Linked DNA regions of Homo sapiens: all the other regions are linked to region 4. Evidence: promoter capture Hi-C in human tissues and cell types (Jung and others, 2019). All regions are on one chromosome and are shown on one strand. The core of a region is centred on a gene start or on the middle of the fragment in contact, and the rest is flanking DNA. Distances in the headings are between cores, read along the strand shown. Region 1 overlaps MVB12B (multivesicular body subunit 12B). Region 2 overlaps MVB12B (multivesicular body subunit 12B). Region 3 overlaps MVB12B (multivesicular body subunit 12B). Region 4 holds the start of PBX3 (PBX homeobox 3).

Evidence for each region. The method cuts DNA at HindIII sites, captures the fragments that hold promoters and counts their contacts. A contact is called where the count stands out against the background at its distance.
Region 1: a contact is called between a fragment that was not itself captured here and the fragment with the promoter of PBX3 in region 4, in 2 of the 25 tissues and cell types used here (dorsolateral prefrontal cortex and hippocampus).
Region 2: a fragment that was not itself captured here is called in contact with the fragment with the promoter of PBX3 in region 4 in 3 of the 25 tissues and cell types used here (dorsolateral prefrontal cortex, hippocampus and thymus).
Region 3: a fragment that was not itself captured here is called in contact with the fragment with the promoter of PBX3 in region 4 in 2 of the 25 tissues and cell types used here (dorsolateral prefrontal cortex and hippocampus).

The regions. Positions count from the first base shown.
Region 1 is chr9:126,338,808-126,343,251 of GRCh38, reverse strand. MVB12B (multivesicular body subunit 12B) reads right to left here. Exons shown (of 10, transcript NM_033446.3): 2 at 2,622-2,744. Among named protein-coding and RNA genes, the nearest start is that of MVB12B, 14 kb to the right of the region's middle. The HindIII fragment of the contact is 5,578 bases long and covers 1-4,444 here.
Region 2 is chr9:126,394,845-126,398,939 of GRCh38, reverse strand. MVB12B (multivesicular body subunit 12B) reads right to left here. Exons shown (of 10, transcript NM_033446.3): 6 at 3,243-3,365. Among named protein-coding and RNA genes, the nearest start is that of NRON, 14 kb to the left of the region's middle. RefSeq lists a silencer at 312-371. The HindIII fragment of the contact is 7,281 bases long and covers 1-4,095 here.
Region 3 is chr9:126,433,412-126,437,599 of GRCh38, reverse strand. All of the region lies in intron 7 of MVB12B (multivesicular body subunit 12B), which reads right to left. Among named protein-coding and RNA genes, the nearest start is that of NRON, 25 kb to the right of the region's middle. RefSeq lists an enhancer at 1-1,479. The HindIII fragment of the contact is 5,330 bases long and covers 1-4,188 here.
Region 4 is chr9:125,744,353-125,748,909 of GRCh38, reverse strand. PBX3 (PBX homeobox 3) reads right to left here and starts at 1,537. Exons shown (of 9, transcript NM_006195.6): 1 at 1,257-1,537; 2 at 287-360. The coding sequence starts at 1,456. PBX3-DT (PBX3 divergent transcript) reads left to right here and starts at 2,981. Exons shown (of 2, transcript NR_122032.1): 1 at 2,981-3,494. RefSeq lists silencers at 563-902, 1,173-1,702, 1,713-1,762, 2,013-2,442. The HindIII fragment of the contact is 5,465 bases long and covers 1-4,557 here.

The DNA.
Region 1 (4,444 bases), core at 870-3,369, 590 kb before region 4:
AGAACAGAAAAGCGAGGCTCTTTCAGAGAGGACCGCAGACGTCGGAACAATAAATTGAGAAGTTTAGCAAATAATCCCCAGCCCCCTAGCCTAAGAAGGCTCCCCTGACCCAGAGAGAAGGGAAGTTATTGAATTAAATTTTTATAAATGAACATTTGGCACCTTTTACCTCAAGCAGCAATGGGACCTAAGCTCATTTTAAAGCAGTTGTGCTACTCAGGGCCACCAGTCCATCTGGTGCCTAACTCGCAGGGCTGCGTGGTGGCAGTACTTAACGGGCTCTGTGCGCAGGGAGAAATTAATCCTACAGCAGCTACAACAGACAGAGAGAGGTCTCGGCCCAATCCGCAGCAGGGCTTCCTCATCTGCTGGAGTTCTGTCTAAGCATCTCTGCAGCCTAGCCACCACAGAGCGCCTTGCACTTTGGTTTGGATATTGACTTAATATGAAACTCCAGATAAAAGGAATGAGAAGTCTCTCTTCTCACCATGCCCTCCCCGCCTTCCTTGAACTTGGGGCCAGACCTCTGGGGAACGAGACGCTTATCTGCACACAGTCCAGAGGCCAGTACCAAGAGGGGACTCCCACCTCTCTCCCTGTTAGGGCTTTCAGAGGGAGCCCAGGCAGTCTCCACCTCGGCCGTGCAGAGCTGGGTAATTACCGGGCGGATGAGCTCAAGCCCCTTGCCCTGCTAACCTCCCACTAAAATGCATGGCACAGCACAATCATGAAATGTGCTTATTAATTTTACTCATTTGACACTGCGCTCTTCTGCCCTGAGCTAGATGTTAGGAGAAAATGATAGGGATAGATTCTGCTCCTGTCAGACTTACCAAGACTTCCAGAAAACCAAACTATCAAAGGCCATCTGCCACCCACTACCCAGGCAAGCAGGATGACCCTAAAGGTACAAACGGAATGCTAAAGATACAGATCAACAAAAGAGGGCATGGGAAGATGGGGAGACCCCTGCCTTGGGCTCAAGCTCCCTGAGAGCCCTCCTAGGAGAGCGACCCCTGAGCCCGTCCTCTCCCACAGCGGGAACTCCCAGTCCCTGCCTTGATTCATGACTTGCTGCTTCATCCCTAATTCATCAAAAGACACTTTGGCTTCTCAAATCAGGAACATTTTTATTAGCTTCCCCCAGAGTTTCGTGGCACAAAGCCATACCTAATGATTCTATTTTATGGAAAGTTATACATTCAAACCACACTTTGAAGTCAAGCAGCAGCTAAGACTGAAATGTTTGTCAGAAAAGTTTCCTTCACTTTTTCACTTTTAAAATGTTTATGAGCTTTCAAACAGTTGGAGAAGGGATGTGTAGCATTTGAACAGGCTCCTCCTTCCTTACCCAGGACCCAGCACTGGCTGACTCAGTACAGATCTGCCTTGACCATTGCAGTTCTCAATGGGGGGTGATTCTGCCCAGCCACCCCCTGCTCCTGGAGACATCTGGCTACGTCTGGAGACATTTTGGGTTGTCACCACTGGGGGAGGAGGGACAGGTGCTACTGGTATTCACTAAGGAGAGGCCAGGAATGCTGCTAAACATCATACGATGCACAGGAAAACATATAGCAAAGAATTATTGGATTGTCTTGCCCTAAATGTCAACAGTGCTGAAGTTGGGAAACCCTGCCTTAGGGCTTCTTCTGCTGGACCAGGCATCACATTCTCCTCACTGCAGGACATCAGAGACTATTCTAATTGCTGTGGGAGGTTTTCAGTGTTGGCTAATGAGATTCGTGTTCTTTCACTCTTATGCATTCTTGGTGCACATTTTCAGTGAATAAGAACAAAACGTCACAAACAAAGTGAGGAAAGTAAACATAAGACCACCTTAGAATCTCAGAACACATGATAATATCCACTGTTAATTAAACCCTCCTAACGTTCCTCTGTACTTTGCAAGCTCCACCCGAATCAGAATTTACCTACTGAAACAACAACATAACCAGTTCCAATCATCAGGACTACTGAACACCAGCACAGATGTCTGCTGAAAAGCAAGGAAAGTTCTCCACTAAACTGTGGTGGTGTGGTCAGCCACAGCACTGGACTTGGAGGGGGTCTGGTCCTGATGATTCACCATATCCAAGGACTGGGACTCTGTTACTTGACTTCTCAGAGCGTGGGTTCTCCTAATCAGCAAAGAGGTGATACAGCTACTTGCCCTCCCAGCCTTCCAAAAGCCCAAGAGAGCTAAATGAGTTCATGGGTAGGAAACATTTTAAACTGTAAAGAGCTACACAGACGTAGGACAATGCCTTTACAATATTTACACATGCATGACAATATATGAAAACCACCAGGAGTCGTTCATAGACTCTGGATCCTTTTCACGAAATGTCACAACCAGAAGTTGAAAATCAATGAATCTAACTCCTTAATTTTACAGAAGGTGAAAATGACCATCACAGAGGTGGTCAAGGCCAGGAAACGGCCCAGATGGGCTCAGGTCTTCTGACTCCCAAACCAGGATGCTCTCCACGCCCTCCCTGGATTAAGTTCCTAGAGGGAAGAAGCACATCTTACACGCAAGGGCCAGAAGGTCTTGGACACAGGAGATAAATACTTGTAGAATCAGTGAGCAAAATGTACAAACTAGTATCTTGACTTACTACGTCATAGCCTGTCGGGGCTCGGTTCCGAGAAGCCACCACCCCGACTCCCGTGATGGGATCCATTGACGTTTCTGGCAAGGCTTCTGAGAGGTCTTTGACTTCAGGCATGGTGGACTGGTCCTGGTTCAGCAAAGGAAAAAGAAAACACAAAATTCAAACATAGCATTTATGTGAATAATATAAAGTCTCAAACAGAACCAGAATCTTGGGGCAAATACCCTGAGTTTCACATACCTGTACTGGTTGAATGAGTCCTGACCCTATGTGACCCTTTCCCCAGGTCAAGAATTCAAATCACCTCTGTTTCCCACTCTTCTCAGGTTAGCTTTGAACACTGAGCTAAGATGAGAGCTTGTCTCTACTCTCAGGAGGTGAGCTTGACTCAAACCCAAGAGCACGTCATTCTTAACTCCGCCATCCAGCTGCTTGATTTCTGAACAGATACCAGTAGCTGCTCTGAAGACATGTCAGACACGGCTAAGCTTAACAACACCTTTCCTCTCTCTCCCTTGCAATCTCTCCTACGGAGGCCTAGACTTCCAAACCCACAGCCAAGGTTAGGCCTTCAGCACGCAGAGCTTTGCAAAGAAGCAAGGAATGTTGCAAACACAGAAATAAGTGTTCTGGGCTCAGGTGAAGGAATGGTGTTGGAGTCCAGGCTCCATGACTGACTAGCTGGTGACTTTGAGTAAGCAATTTAACCTCCTGGACCCTTCATTTTCTCAGCTATAAAAGGAGGTCATGATACTGACCCTTGCAGAGCTGCTGTGAGGACCAAGAGAGTCAAAGACAGTGGATGTAAATGAAAGGCCTGGAGAGGTCCCTGGTATACAGTAGGCGCTCAAAAAAAGCACATAAAACTGGTGGGGTTTGGGACACACAAGTCCAGGTAACTGGTCAGAAATGTGATAGGCGTCACTCCATAGGGGACTGGCAGATCCCTTTGTTGTGTTTTACCCTCGGGTCATGTGGGCACTTACTCAAAGCCAAATACTAACAATGATCATAATTCTTGCTGGGCACTTTGAGAGAAAGGGAGGGAAAATGGAATTATTATTCTGCTGCTGACTGCCTCTTGATGTGACCAGAGGAGAAAGGTAGAATATAGAGAGCACTGGGTCTGGGCAGCTGGAGTGGCAGTGCACCAGAAAGCAAATAAAAGAGGCAACACCATATGTAAATGAACCTAAGTACTTTTAAAAGGACAAGCAGTGAAAAAGAGCAAGTCAAATTCCACCTCCTTCTGCAACAATTAAACTCCACTGGCTGCAGGTCTGCCAGATCTCTCAAGGCTGGTTACTGCTTCTAATACAAACCAAACACCCTACCTCACTAAGCAGGCAGGAGGAATATTCTTGCTTCTAGCCTAGAATCAGAAAAGGCAGAGGCCATTAAAAATGACTGCAGCCTTCTAAATAGGAACAATCAAAATGCTGTATGCAAGTCTCCCATGAAGTCAGTGGAACCCACAAAAAGCTCCGGAAACAGACTTGTCAATGCAATGGAGCTGAGTCCTCGATCAAGGCTAGGAAGTGCCTGGCACAGCTGCAGTCTCCTCTTCTGTTTACAACAAAGCTTAACAAAGTTATGCTTTACCTAATTCTTCTGAAAATAAGCTTCTAAACGGCCAGGGCAGGGGGTACCACACTGCATCACTGCATCATTTTCTGTTTTCAAGTTTCATTTACCAGGCAGGTTTATCTGCATAAAACACAGGGCTTAGTGCTTCCTGCACACAGTAGGCACTAAGTAAATATTTGAGTGAATATTTACTTAGTGCATGTCCCCAGTAAAGGTTTAGAATTAAATATCTGCACCTG
Region 2 (4,095 bases), core at 35-2,534, 650 kb before region 4:
ATCCACCTTTGTCTGAAGTAAAGCTGGGAATGAACGGCATTCCAAAAAATGGCAGGAAATTCTTTGAAATCTGAGCGATGACACAAGAAATGGAGGCGGAGCACATGGTTTTGGCTTTGGAGAGGAATACAGACTCAAGAAGGCAGCAAGATCTGTGACCCACCGCTTCCTAGGTCCTCCTGGCTGGCCTGGGCCAGGGCTCTGCGGCGAAAGAGCCTGCCACTAGCTCCGGCTCAGAACCGCATTCCCCGCCACCGCCACGGCTGGGCAGTAGAGGGCGCTGCGTCACCGCGCTCCCAGAGGCCCGATCCACGCCACACAAAGACCGCACTGGACGTGGTTCTCAGGTTTATGGTTAAGGCTACCTGAGAAAAGAGTAGCAAGATGCAGACTTGCTATTACACGATATGATATCACCTATGTAAAAAGTACACAAGAAAAAGACTTGAGGGAAATATAACAAAAGGTTATAAGCATCTGCTCGTGGGAAATGGAATTCCTGTTTTTTCATACTTTCTACATTCTGCCAATTTTCTACAAGCCTGGATTACTCTCGCCATAGGAAAAGACCCGCGCAGTGCTCAGGGACCAGGGAGTAGTCTGGAGGGGTTGCCAGGGACGCATTTATGGTGAAACTGAATTCGTGCCTGGATTCAGGTAGGCGCTGGGGAGCTCCTCGGAGGCTCACCACATGCCCTCACCACCACACGGGCTCGAGATGCCCCGGAAGCGCTCACAGAAGAAGACCCAGCACAGGCCCAGCCCAGGAGCCTCTGGGAGGGCTTCCCGGGAGAGAAGTCCTCTGCGCTGAGACCTGTCAAACACACCTCATGTGCAGGGAGCACCGGGAGCAAAGGCGCAGAAGCCAGGGGAGGAGGAGGCTGCCAGCGCACGTTAATGTCTGGGGCTCTGGCTGGGAAAGGGAAGACAGGAAATCCCGGAGCTGGTGTGCAGCCCTGCAGGCCCCACTGAGGGGCCTGCCTTACCCTATAGGCTCCTGGTAGACCCCCAGCACTCGGAGCACAAGCCCCAGCCACTGCTCCCCACCAGAGGGGAGGTGATCAGATTCCTCCTCTGGAGAGTGTAGAGACCTGAAGCCTCAAGGAATAAAACAGCATACTCATCCTTTCCTAGGTCTTCAATGGAAAATTTGAATGAATAATCAACATTTCATTTTAAAATAAATCAAAGATACTGGATAGGAAAACAACACACAAAAAAACCCCACAAAAACCAAAAAACCCTGATGGATGAGGCTTACATAGGTGTGCATCCTACCTGTAAATTACCGCACAGGAGAACTTGGGACAGACAAATGGCTTTTACTTGGAAGCACTAATGAACATTCAATTATCCTGTTGCATATTGGCTGACTTAACTCAGCCAAATTAGAATACATTTTATATTGACTATTTTGACATTTGTTTTATTTGGCAAGTAAAACAAAACTGATCCGATTTCCTTGCAGCCATTGTAAACCATAAACTGTACAGCAGAGGTGATAAAATACATAAGCCTTATAAACATCTGGTTCTGACGCACTACCCTCCAAACCCACCAGGCTGCCGGTGGCTCGGTGTTCTCGGCTGTCTTGCTTCAGGTGCAAGTGACTTTGCTCTCACAGTCACCAGCAGGCTTCTGAGAGCTCTCTCTGCTTTATCTGAGAGAACTGGTGTTCTTTCTTTAACCACAGAAAGTCAAAACCTGCCTGAGGTGGTGCCCATTTCTGGGCCCTTCTAGACCACATGATGTCAGCAGGGAGCAGCTGTAACAACTTCAGGGCAACTGCTCCTGTGGGGGCTTTCCAGCCTCTGCAAGGAGCCCACACTTGAGCTGCTCCAAGTACAAGTGATGGGCCTCAGCACAGGTGATGGAGGACCCCGACACACAGGTGATGGACTTAGCTGACTCCCCAGCACAGGTGACACACCTGATATAGCCTTGAGCACAGGAGACAGTGACCCTCAGCAGTGCCCTCCAGGGCGGAGCTGACAGCGCTCTGGCTCAGAAGTGAGGAACAAGTGCTGATGGGCAGTGCGAACCTCACACTCTTGAACCCAACAGAGACTCAACTGTTCACCCTGCAACTCTGGGAGGCTTATTAGAGATTCCTATCTTTTTATGCCAAATGAAACTGAAAACTACTTCTAAAGTTTCAGGCAATTCCAGGGGTAGTTAAGTTTAAATACCACTCTTGGTTTGTGAAACTGTCATGAGAAGGACCAGATTGTCTTTATAGGGGGATGTCCCAGAGGACAGAGTCCTCAGGGCTTTGGAGCCTCATTACAGCACATTCTTCCAAGTGAGACGGAGGCTTGGCACAGAGGAACAGAGTACAGAGAGCTGGTGGTATGTCCCGGAGGGCAGGCTGTATTGTGGATGGCCCAGGAAGACCTACTGGTGACTCTTCTGTCCGGTTCCTGACAGATTTTGTTCATCTCTATTCACCCACGTGGAAGCTTGGAGATCCATTCTCATTTACGTTATGTCAATCCCTAAGTGTTGCTGCCTCACCGTTCTTGTTTTATTTACTTTTGCAATCCCTTTCTCAAGCTTAATCCATCAGTGCTGTTTGTTCCTTGCCCTTAGTTTACTCCTAGTGATGCACAGGATTTTTATTTGACAGGATTCTTTTTGCAGAAAGTGTAGAGACTGTTACTACCTCTGTTATGACTGAAATCAGTTGCAGAGCAAACAGTTGGCTCACCCAAGTTTCTTTGCGGAGACAATTGTTAAAACTAGCATTTCCTGAAAAACTCCTCACTATTCTCTCATACCCAAACTACCCATTTCTTACTTTATAGCTCATTGGAAAAAGAAATTATATGAAAATGAAGAATATAAGAACTCACCTACCCTCCTGGGTTTCAAATGAGTTGCTGGCCAAGACAGAGAAGGAATTTGACCTTAAGGCCAGTGATCCCAACCCCATGGCTATACAGCACGTGTCTGTGTGTAGCTAGCAGCTCTTTTGAATAGGGAGCCAATTTTAAGTTGCATAATCTGCAATTTTAGAAGCCTGCAGAACACGCACAAAATAGACTATAGAATGGCCTTTGCATTCATGTAATGCAAAGATTTCCAAGTGGATTTTTAAAAATCTCCTCTAAAGATATATTGCTTCTACAATTATTCAGCTGTACTTTGCAGTATTTCAGCAGACACTAAGTGGTGGTGTTCTAAAATGTTGTGCAGGGACCTAAGACCACAGGACAACGCAAGACACCCCGACAAGGCCTCACCTGGGAAGGTTGGGGGCTGGGGTGGAGGCAGCTGATGACTGGGAAGGCGTTGTGGGTTGAGATGAGTCATGATTTCTTGGTACTCTGCCCATTCGATACCAGATCCCCATGCTGTTCAGTTCCCTTTAGGAAAAAAGAGAAATCTTCATGGCTCTGGTTAGCACAAAGCATTTACCTGAGTGACAAAGCAAACCAATTCATTTAAAAGAGTCATGGCCTCAAACACCAGGGAATCAATTCTTGCCCTCCACGTGAAATGGGTTCCACCGTCTCCTTTGTGCTCTGGGTGTCATAGTTCACACGAGGGTGACCCGTTCCATCTAGGCAGGCCTTCGGGACAAGGCCGCCTGCATCACCCTTCCCAAGCTTGCCTTCCTACTCCAACTGGTACTTTCCTTGCTTCTCCAAACTTCTTTTTGTTTTGCCATTTCCTTGTGGAGTGTGACGTGATAATCCACATCAAGTCCTTTGTGCAATTAGGAGAGACAGATAGGGAGATGCTGGTTTTTAACCATGAGAAGAATTAGCCCCCTACTCTATAACACACTCCAATCTCAGGATACAGCCTCTTGCAGCTGGGTGTCACCTGCCGTTGGACTCATTCTCAGGGTCAGTTTGGGAGTCATCTTCAAACTACAAAACTCGAGGCCCCATGAACCACACAACTAGGAGTGGACACCAAGGGGCCTCCCAGACGCCGCATAAGCTCTCCTGTGACCTCCCTCGCAGTCACCACAGCCCCGCCCCCTACTACACCACACACTCGTGAGTGCTGAGGAGACAGCCACGCTCCTAGGAATAGTGACGGGATCATTTTCACCATATTCAGTTTCCAACTTCCCAGTTGCCCACA
Region 3 (4,188 bases), core at 274-2,773, 690 kb before region 4:
TCCCCACAACTGTCTCCGGTTTTCTGTCCCTTATTGCTGCCTTTATGTTTTATTCATACACCAACTCACCTGTCACTTCATAAGCTATAATATTATGGGGGTATTATTAAACAGCATAAAGCCGTGCTTTAATTGGAAAGCTTCATTGCATTTTCCAATTATTTGGAGTAAATTAAAAGCAGATGCACATAGTTTAATAAGGAGTCTAATATCAGTTCCGGGAAATCAAAATTCATTGTCATTACTATGCCGTGATAGTTTTGCAAACTGTACTCAATTTCAGAGGTTTTCAAAAGAAAATCTGTCTATGCAATCTGTTAATTGTCATTCGGTTAATAACTGTTTAAATATCCGAACTACATAGCAGCTTCCTATTAAAAAAAATTAAACTATGGAGTTTACGCAAGCAAACAAATACAGCATGCCACTCCTGGGCTGGGCTGGACTTTTCAGACTTGCCTGTTCACCCTAAAACAATGGGAAGGCTCGAGAAACCCACCCACACGGCAGCTCAGCTCCAGAGCTGGAGGACAAAGAACAGCAATTTTGTACTTCTGCAAGCACCAGAGGTTACAGTACCATAAGACAGCTCTCTGTGGAAGGGCAGAAGCCATGTTATAAATTGTGTTTTCAGAGGTCTGCTCTGCTCAGCAAAAAATTAGCTTCCAAAGTTTTAATTGGTCCACCTAAAATAAATTCTTTTAATGAGTAAATTAACTGATTCAGGACACAAACATGGAAAAAATTAAAGAAAGCAAATGTTGTGAGCAATTCGCTTTTAAAAAATTGACCCAGGAAGGGCCATTCCCTTACTAGTTCATGACTCATGAGTGGAGTGCCCCTTAGGCTCTGCAGGGGCCAGCCACTGTGCCCACAAGTGGACTGGACTGCCAGACAAAGGACTATATGCTGAGCCACTACGGATTTAAGGAACCAGACCTTAAAGGTTACTCTTCATAAGGAATCTTGCTCACAGATGTAGTTACAGCTCCACAGCTGCAAGTTGCATACATACACATACATGTAGCTAAAGCATTTACAAATGAAAAGTCATAGGTATACTCAAACTAGTACACGTAACCTTTTCACTTTTATACTAAGTGGCAGACTTTTTCAAATCCTGTGTGTGTAAATTATAATAGGACAAGCAGTAATTGACTTTGAAACTCCACCCACTGCGAGGGCTACAATTAATCTGTTTTTAGCATAAGAACTGCTGCTCTGCAAAGTTCATAACTTGTAGGTTCTTTTTCCCAATCCAATTAAAACCTAAGAGTGTTCCTAAAAGGCGGCTGCACAGAATTTACTCTTCAGCTCCCGTTTCAAAGGGCGTATCTGCTAACATCCCAATCATCAAAGGGCAAGCCCCTCCAGACCAGAAAGGACCCCAAATGCCCGAACACGAGAGAGCCTCCTGGCAAAATAACCAGAAACTATGCTCAAAGATGAAGATAAAAGCAATTCTTGTGCAGTGATCCAAAAAACAGCATCTCTTTTTTTCCCCAAAATTACCTGTTTTAATAAAGTAGACATACTGTGCCAACTGAACCATTTAATTATCTGCAAAAATGATGAATCAAAACAATAGTTTGCAAAAATAAATGACTAACCTCTGATTAAAATGTCTGTCCTCATTAAATCCAAAGAAAAGGTATGATCTCTTTTTAAAAAATGTAGCCTGAAGAAACAAGCAGTCCCCCCGCATCTACAGCCGTACCCTTCACAGTGGCAGTGACCTGCCATGAGACGGGACATCTGAGGATGTTGTCTAATCTACTCTCTCCAACCCTGAGAAAAGACGGTGTGCCCCTGTGGCCTTCGAGCCTCTGGGTGCCGCCGGCCTGGCAGCAAGTGAGCTCAGGGACAGGGGACTTCCAGATGATGTGCTCGGTGGGTGGTGTGATTCTGGAGCAAGGAAAGAAACTTTTTTTTTTTTTTTTTGGCTAAAATAAGAGGTTCTGGGAGGGGAGTGGTTGGAAAGGAAGGAGCCAAGGCCAAAGAGAAAGAAAAAGAAAGGCAAAGAAGGAAAATCATTTAAAGGGTTGAGTGCCGATATGATCCCTTCTCAAACCAGAGCTGACTTGATGAAAAGGAACATGGAAAATTGAGGCTGATTTAAATGTTGAGAAGTTCTCTCTTTAAAATCATTTTACCCAGTAGCAAGCTAACATCTCCAGCAATTACACATTTCTGAACTAGAAGGGAGGGTTTGCCTTCTATTATGCCAAAAGTTTCCCTGAGCCATGCCAGGTCCCACCATTCATGAGCTCCCTCTGTCAGCTGCACCCTCTCCATCCCCGGCTGGACTTTTAGGTGAGGTCACACTGCAGGGTGAATGAGACCAGTGCCTTCTGGTATAATAAGCAGCAATTCCCTGGAATAACAATATTTACGGCAGTTATAGCAGCTCCACTTCTGGAGTGCCCTCTTGGTACTAGGCACTGGGTATTTCATGTACATTATCTTTAATCCTCAAATTCAGAAGAGAAAATATAATTCAAAATTACAAAAAAAAAAAGAAAACAGACTGCAATGTTATATAAACTGTCTAAAGTAATGTAGCTGGAAAGGGTGGATACAAAAGGGTGAACCAGTTCTAAGACCCAGGTCCTCTCAGAATCAACGAAACATTGAGTGTCATGGAACATCCCCTGTATGCTAGGCCCTGGGCTGGGCATTGGGCATCAGGCACACACCAGTGAAGGAGACATCATCTTGCCCTCCAGAATGAACCCTGAACTCCACATGATGACCAGAGATGGATCTCCTTTCTTAGAACTCGGAAACCAAGCAAATGGCCAGAGTTTTACAAGAAGCATAAATAGCCAAGGGGTTTCCTGGCCAAAGAAGCTACGTCTTGGGCCTACAAAAGGCACTACCACCTTTGGCAAAATAGGGGTGAGTGAAGGCCGTGCAATTCATGAGCCAAGGACCTTCTCACAGGAGTGAAACTGGCGTTTTGCTACACAGGGCATATTTCAGGTAAACACACAGGCAATGGAACATAAAGATAGGTGTGTTTATTGCCTCTAGGTAGCAAGCGATTAAGGACTTCTAAGTGTGTCACCAGAAGCGATGCTTAGGGCCACCGAGGCAAGCTTTACTCCCTCATTCAAAATTATGGATGTTGCCTCGCCAGTGGATCATGCGATCGTTCATGCTATAAAACAAGTCAGGCGTAAGAAACTGCTCTCTAACAAAGGATCTCAACCTTGGAGGAGAGTTCTGTATCATTCATTGTCTTACAGACAATTGTAAGACAAATCTGGGGAATCAAGAACCTTATTCTCTGGGATAGGTGATAAATATATTCCATCCAAACTCCAGGCTGCAGGATTGAAGATTTTTTTTTTTAAACATAAATGCATTTAGGACTATCACTGGCCATTAATAAAAAGAGGGAAAAAGCCATTCAGTATTCAGGGCACAAACACCAACTGTGTGACAGTAGTTGGATTCAGGTACTCTGTCCAAACAAGACAGGTGGCTTCGTTGTTCTAAAAAAGATCGGAATTTCTTTTGTCCTAATGTCAGCAGTTAAATGCATTCATTCTGACAAAAAAGGGGGACCCTCATACTGTGTAAGAGCTGAAAGATAAATCTCATCACCAAAGCTTGTGCGACTGTTCAACTTCTCCCCAAGTTCTGGCACCGCATGTATCCATCCTTAGCAGGCCATCGAGAGTTTACCCCAACTCGGAATCCAATGCCCTGCCACTACTGTCTTAACTCAGAGATGCTTGAGCTCGGCAATGCTGGCAGCTGGAGGACTCAGGGGGCTGGAAGCAGGCAGGAGTGGAAGCTGGGACTGGGAATGACTGGGTCACAGGTGAGGGTTATTCTGGAGCACTCACAGGGAATACTCACAAGGAATGCTCACGGGCTGCAATGGCTCAGTAATCTTGGGCTTGGGTTTAGGAGAAGTTGGCTCTTAGGAGGCCCAATCTAGAGAATGAAGCTTCCAAGCAGGAAAGGCAGGGCAGCACACAGGTGACTATCAGTTCAAACTAGAGCCCTGCCCATGGGCAGGGTACAGGGACTCACGGAACAGGAGAGCTAGAGTAGGGGAGAAGAACACTTGGGGGTCAGACCCAATAAGTGAAACGATGGGCTTGGGCTGCCCACCATCACTATAGGCTAAGAGAAGGCCACCACGAAGAGACATCCCAGTGCCAAGGGCTCCCCCAG
Region 4 (4,557 bases), core at 288-2,787:
GGCGGCTGGCGCTCCGGGCCCCCTCCCCGCCTGCAGCCAGGGGCGGCCGCCGAGGGACGGCGATCCAGCCCGGTCCGCACCTACACTTCATTTTACACCAGGAGCAGAACTGAGAAATTGACTCCAGATTTATTGCAGTTTTTTCTCAAGATCAGGACGTGGGAAGGAGAGAATGATCAAAGATGGCGGTGCCCAAAAGCAGCAGCTCTCAACTGGAGAGTCGAAGGAGTAGCTCCGACCCCCACCTCGGGGGTCTCCAGGCCCACTGCGGGGCGCAGCGTCTTACCTGTTTTCTCTTTGATCTCACACAGGACGCTGAAGAGCGCTGGTTTCATTCTGTGACAGTTCAGGGCATGTTTCCTAAAAAACAAATAACGAAACACAAAGGTATTAGCATCACCTATGGAATAATATGGCGCCTTCCTTTAAGTTAGACCCAAGATTTAATTCCAGCCCCCCATTCTGGAAGGCCCTTTTGAACCGTGGGAAGTCAACAAAAACTCCAGTTGACTAGTTCCCGACAGCCAGCAAGCCCCGGCGGCGAAAGCTGCAGCCGGAACAAGGCGGACCCATCTGCCCGGCAGGCAGCAGCCTCGGCCACTGCAGACGCGACGCGAACCCGCGCGGGGAGCCTCGCCCCGGGGGCAGGCGAAGGCGACCCGGGGGAGGGGACGGGTGCGGAGGGGCTCCCGCGTCCGCTCCTGTGCAGAGGAGGCCGGCCGACTGCGGCCAGCGGGAGGGTGACAGCTCGGCAAAGTTTGCAAGGCGGCCCTCCCTCTCCGAGAACTTGGCCGTCCGCACCCGGACCCGCCAGGGAACCGCCCATCGCCCCGCGCCGGGCCCGGGTGGCCGCCCGCATCGCGAGGTCGTCCCGCGGCCGCGGGAGCCGGCGCCGGGACTCCCCGCCGGAGGAGAAAGTTACACTTCCCGGCGGCGCGGCCCGCACGGGGTCGGGGCGGGAGGTTTAAATCCCTGGGAGGGGGCCGGGCTGCGAGGGGCAGGACGGGGGAAAGGACGCCACGGAATCCGCGCCGCACCGAGTCCGTCCCGAGCCCCCCAGAGCAACTTTGCCGACTCCCGCCCGCTTCGGGGGGCGCGGGCAAGTCCCCCCGAGGCCGGGGCGGGCGGCCGGCTTTCGGAGAAAGTTCCCCGCCGGGGGCTGCGGCCCTAGCCCCGGGCGCCACCCCGGGCCTCGACTCGGCCGCGGGCCCGGCTCCCGCACACACACAAAAGATGCTTAATGAGACGACACCAACTTTGCTTGCGCCTCGTCCAAGCTCTGGTCGGTGATGGTCATGATCTGGTGGAGGATGTCGCCGATGTCCTGCTTCCTGCCGTCGCCGTCCGCCCCTTCGTGGCCGTGCGGGGGAGGCGGCAGGGCCATGCCCCCCTGCACCGAGTGGCCAGCCAGGTTCACCCCGGCCAGAGTCTGCAGCATCCTGGATTGATCGTCCATCCCGCCGCGCGCGGGCGGGAGCGGGCGGCGGCTGAGGCGAAGGCTGAGGCGGCGGCGGCGGCGGCGGCGACGAGGGAGGAGAAGAAAGAGGGGGAGGGGGAGGGGGAGGCGGCCGCGCGCTCCCCGCCCGCGCGGGGAGGGGGCGGCCCGGCCGGCAGGGCCCGCGGCTGAGGCGATGAGGACGGGCGCCCGGCTCCGGCTTCCGCCGCCGCCGAGGCTGAGGAGAAGCGGCGGGCGGAAGCGCCGGGCTCCGCGGCGGTGGCGGAGGCGGAGGCGGCGGCGCCCGCTGCCCTCACGCGGCCGCCGCGCCGCCTCCTCGCCGCCGCGCGCCCCGCCGGGCGGCCCCGCGCAACTTGCTCCTCAGCGCCCGCCGAGTTGCCGGGACGCCCGCCGCCCCCCGCGCCAGCCTGCGCACTGCCCTCCTCGGCCGCCGCCGCCGCCTCGGCCAGGCGGGATCCGAGCCCCGGCGGCCCCGGGGGAGGCAGCGGCGGCGGCGGCGGGCGGCGGCGGAGGAGGAGGCCTGCGGGCGGGCCGCGGGGAGCGAGGGGGGGCGGAGGAGGAAAGTTTGGGAGCGGGCGGGCAGAGGCGGCGGGGGCGCTGAGCCCGGAGGAGGGCCCCGGCGGGCCGCGCGCCGGGCGGACAGCCGATGGATAGGGCGGGAGAAGTCGCCGCCGCCGCCGCCGGAGCCGCGCACCCAGCCAGCAGCCGCCGCGGACCGGGCTGGAAGGCCGCTGGGCCGAGGGATTGACAGGCTGCCAGTGCCACTCACTCACTGCGGCCCCGCGCCGGGGGGAGGGACGGGGGCTGGCAAGGGCGGGGGAGCGCTCCTCAGACCCCGCCCCCGGGGCGGTGCGCGCGCTCATTGGGCTCTGCGCCTCCCGCCGCCGCCGCCGGCACCGCCCCCGGGGCCCGGCCCGTTCCCTCTGGCCTCTGATACTCCGCGCTCCGGAGTGTGCCGCCGGATCCTCGCTCCAACCTCGTCGCGTCCTAGCCCCCCGGGATAGACCGGGCCGGCCCACAAACGGTGTGCCCGCACCCCGACTCCTGCTCCATGCTTTTGGCAGTCATGGGAGCGGGGGGTTGTGTATGGGACAGTGGGCAACTCGCTGCAAAGCCAACCGTGTGCTCCCCCGCCGCGCCCGTGAGCTTCACGCCTCGGACAGCTCCTGGTGCACTTTCCCGCTCTTCCTGTCAGGAGGTGGTGCCCTCTGGGTACCAGGCCGCTCGTCCCGGGCCAATCGCAAAGCGCTTAGAGCCGAATGGGGCGGGACAGAGGCAAGAAAGGGTCGTCCCAATTGGAGCGTTCGAAAGGTTCTGGGCAGAGGCGGGGAAGCGGCGAGTGGGGGCCTCGCCCCGCCTGCGGTCGCCATGGTAACCGAGAGGGCGCAGCTCAGCGTTGGCGCCAGCACCGGGGTCTTGTGCTGTCCCTCAATGGGTGACCAGTTAAGGTGGGAACCTGTGGTCTCACATACTTGAAGTCTGAGCTGAGTGGACCTGACTGCCATAGACTTTCCATTGAAAGGGGAAATGTGTCAGAGAGAAGCGAGTCTGGGAGGAGGGAAAGTGCCTTCAGTCCAGGACTAATTTCAAGGTTTACAACACTTTACACACTCTGCAACTCCTGATAATCCAGGGACTACTCCTTTGGCAGCGTTTGCTATTCGATGCCTCCAGATGTACTGAAGCTGCAAAAACGAGCTCTTCATTACAAAGATACGTTTGTTTAGGAAGAGACTGGATTTCACTTGTCAACTTACCCCATCACCACGAGTCATTTAATGTTGGTAACGCCAGCCACGATTTTTCGTATCTATAACACCCCTTCTTCCATTGAATTCTACCTACAAATAACTGAAGGCTCACATTATTTTGGAATATGGACCTCCGCCTCTTGTGGAGACTTGAGATTGCTCTTAAGCTGATTTCCCAAACAGGGGCTGCAATGTGTGTTCCCGATTTTAGATTCATTGAGCTCACCCTAGATGAGTCCTTTGGTTCGGTGGTTCGGAAAAGTCTCTTTGTTCCTTCTCCAAACTCAGTAAGCTGTCTTACCTGAAACCAAAAATAGGGGTATGAGGATATGAAAAATGGCTCTTACTCTGCAGGGTTTAATGTAGGACAAGCAGTTCTTTAAATGCCAGATGGATTCTTGGAATGAAGCAGGCTACTCGGTTCCAGGTTCTTTCCTTCATATGTTGTGTGTACTTTTAAATACTCCCCACTGCAAAGCTAATAGCTAAGCTTACAGTTAGGCAAGCTAAAATCCTTACAAACTGCACAGCTGCTGAGGAGGGAGTTCCAAAAAATCCACTCTGCTTACTTACCTCCAAAGAAGAACCCCCTTCATGTTCATTAATATTCTCTGCTCTTCTATACCCCATTGATATGTCAAGTTTCCAATTCTTCTTTGAAGCCCCCATTATGGGTTACTTATAATCGTCATTGATTGGGTTTTTTCTTTATTCTTAATTTGTTTTTTAAAGCTGTCACCAAATTCTTAAGCATTTTTGCCAAAAGGCGCAGGAGCAAGCGGTCAACCTTTCATAATTCTCCAACGCTGAGGATGCAAAACCACAGAATTCTAACTGAAAGATGCCTTAAATTCTAAGATTCCTTCCAGCTGTAAAATTCAATAATCCTGTGACTCACTATTAGGACTCCTCTCTGCCCTCCTTCTAGACTCATAATCTTGACTAATCAGTCATGAGGATGAGGCTAATTAGCAATGGGGATTTATGGTTATTTCTAGCCCACTCCGAACAATGAGTTATGTAAGCAAAGCAACATATATAAAAATGTAAATAGGCCGGTGGCTCATGCCTGTAATCTCAGAACTTTGGGAGGCCGAGGCAGGTGGATCACAAGGTCAGGAGTTGAGACCAGCCTGGCCAACATGGTGAAACCCCATCTCTACTAAAAATACAAAAAATTAGCTGGGCTTGGTGGCAGGCGCCTGTAATCCCAGCTACTCAGGAGGCTGAGGCAGGAGAATCACTTGTACCCAGGAGGTGGAGGTTGCGGTGAACTGAGATTGTGCCACTCCCCTCCAGCCTGGGCGACAGAGTGAGACTTCTTTTCAAAAAAAAAAAAAAAAAGTAAAT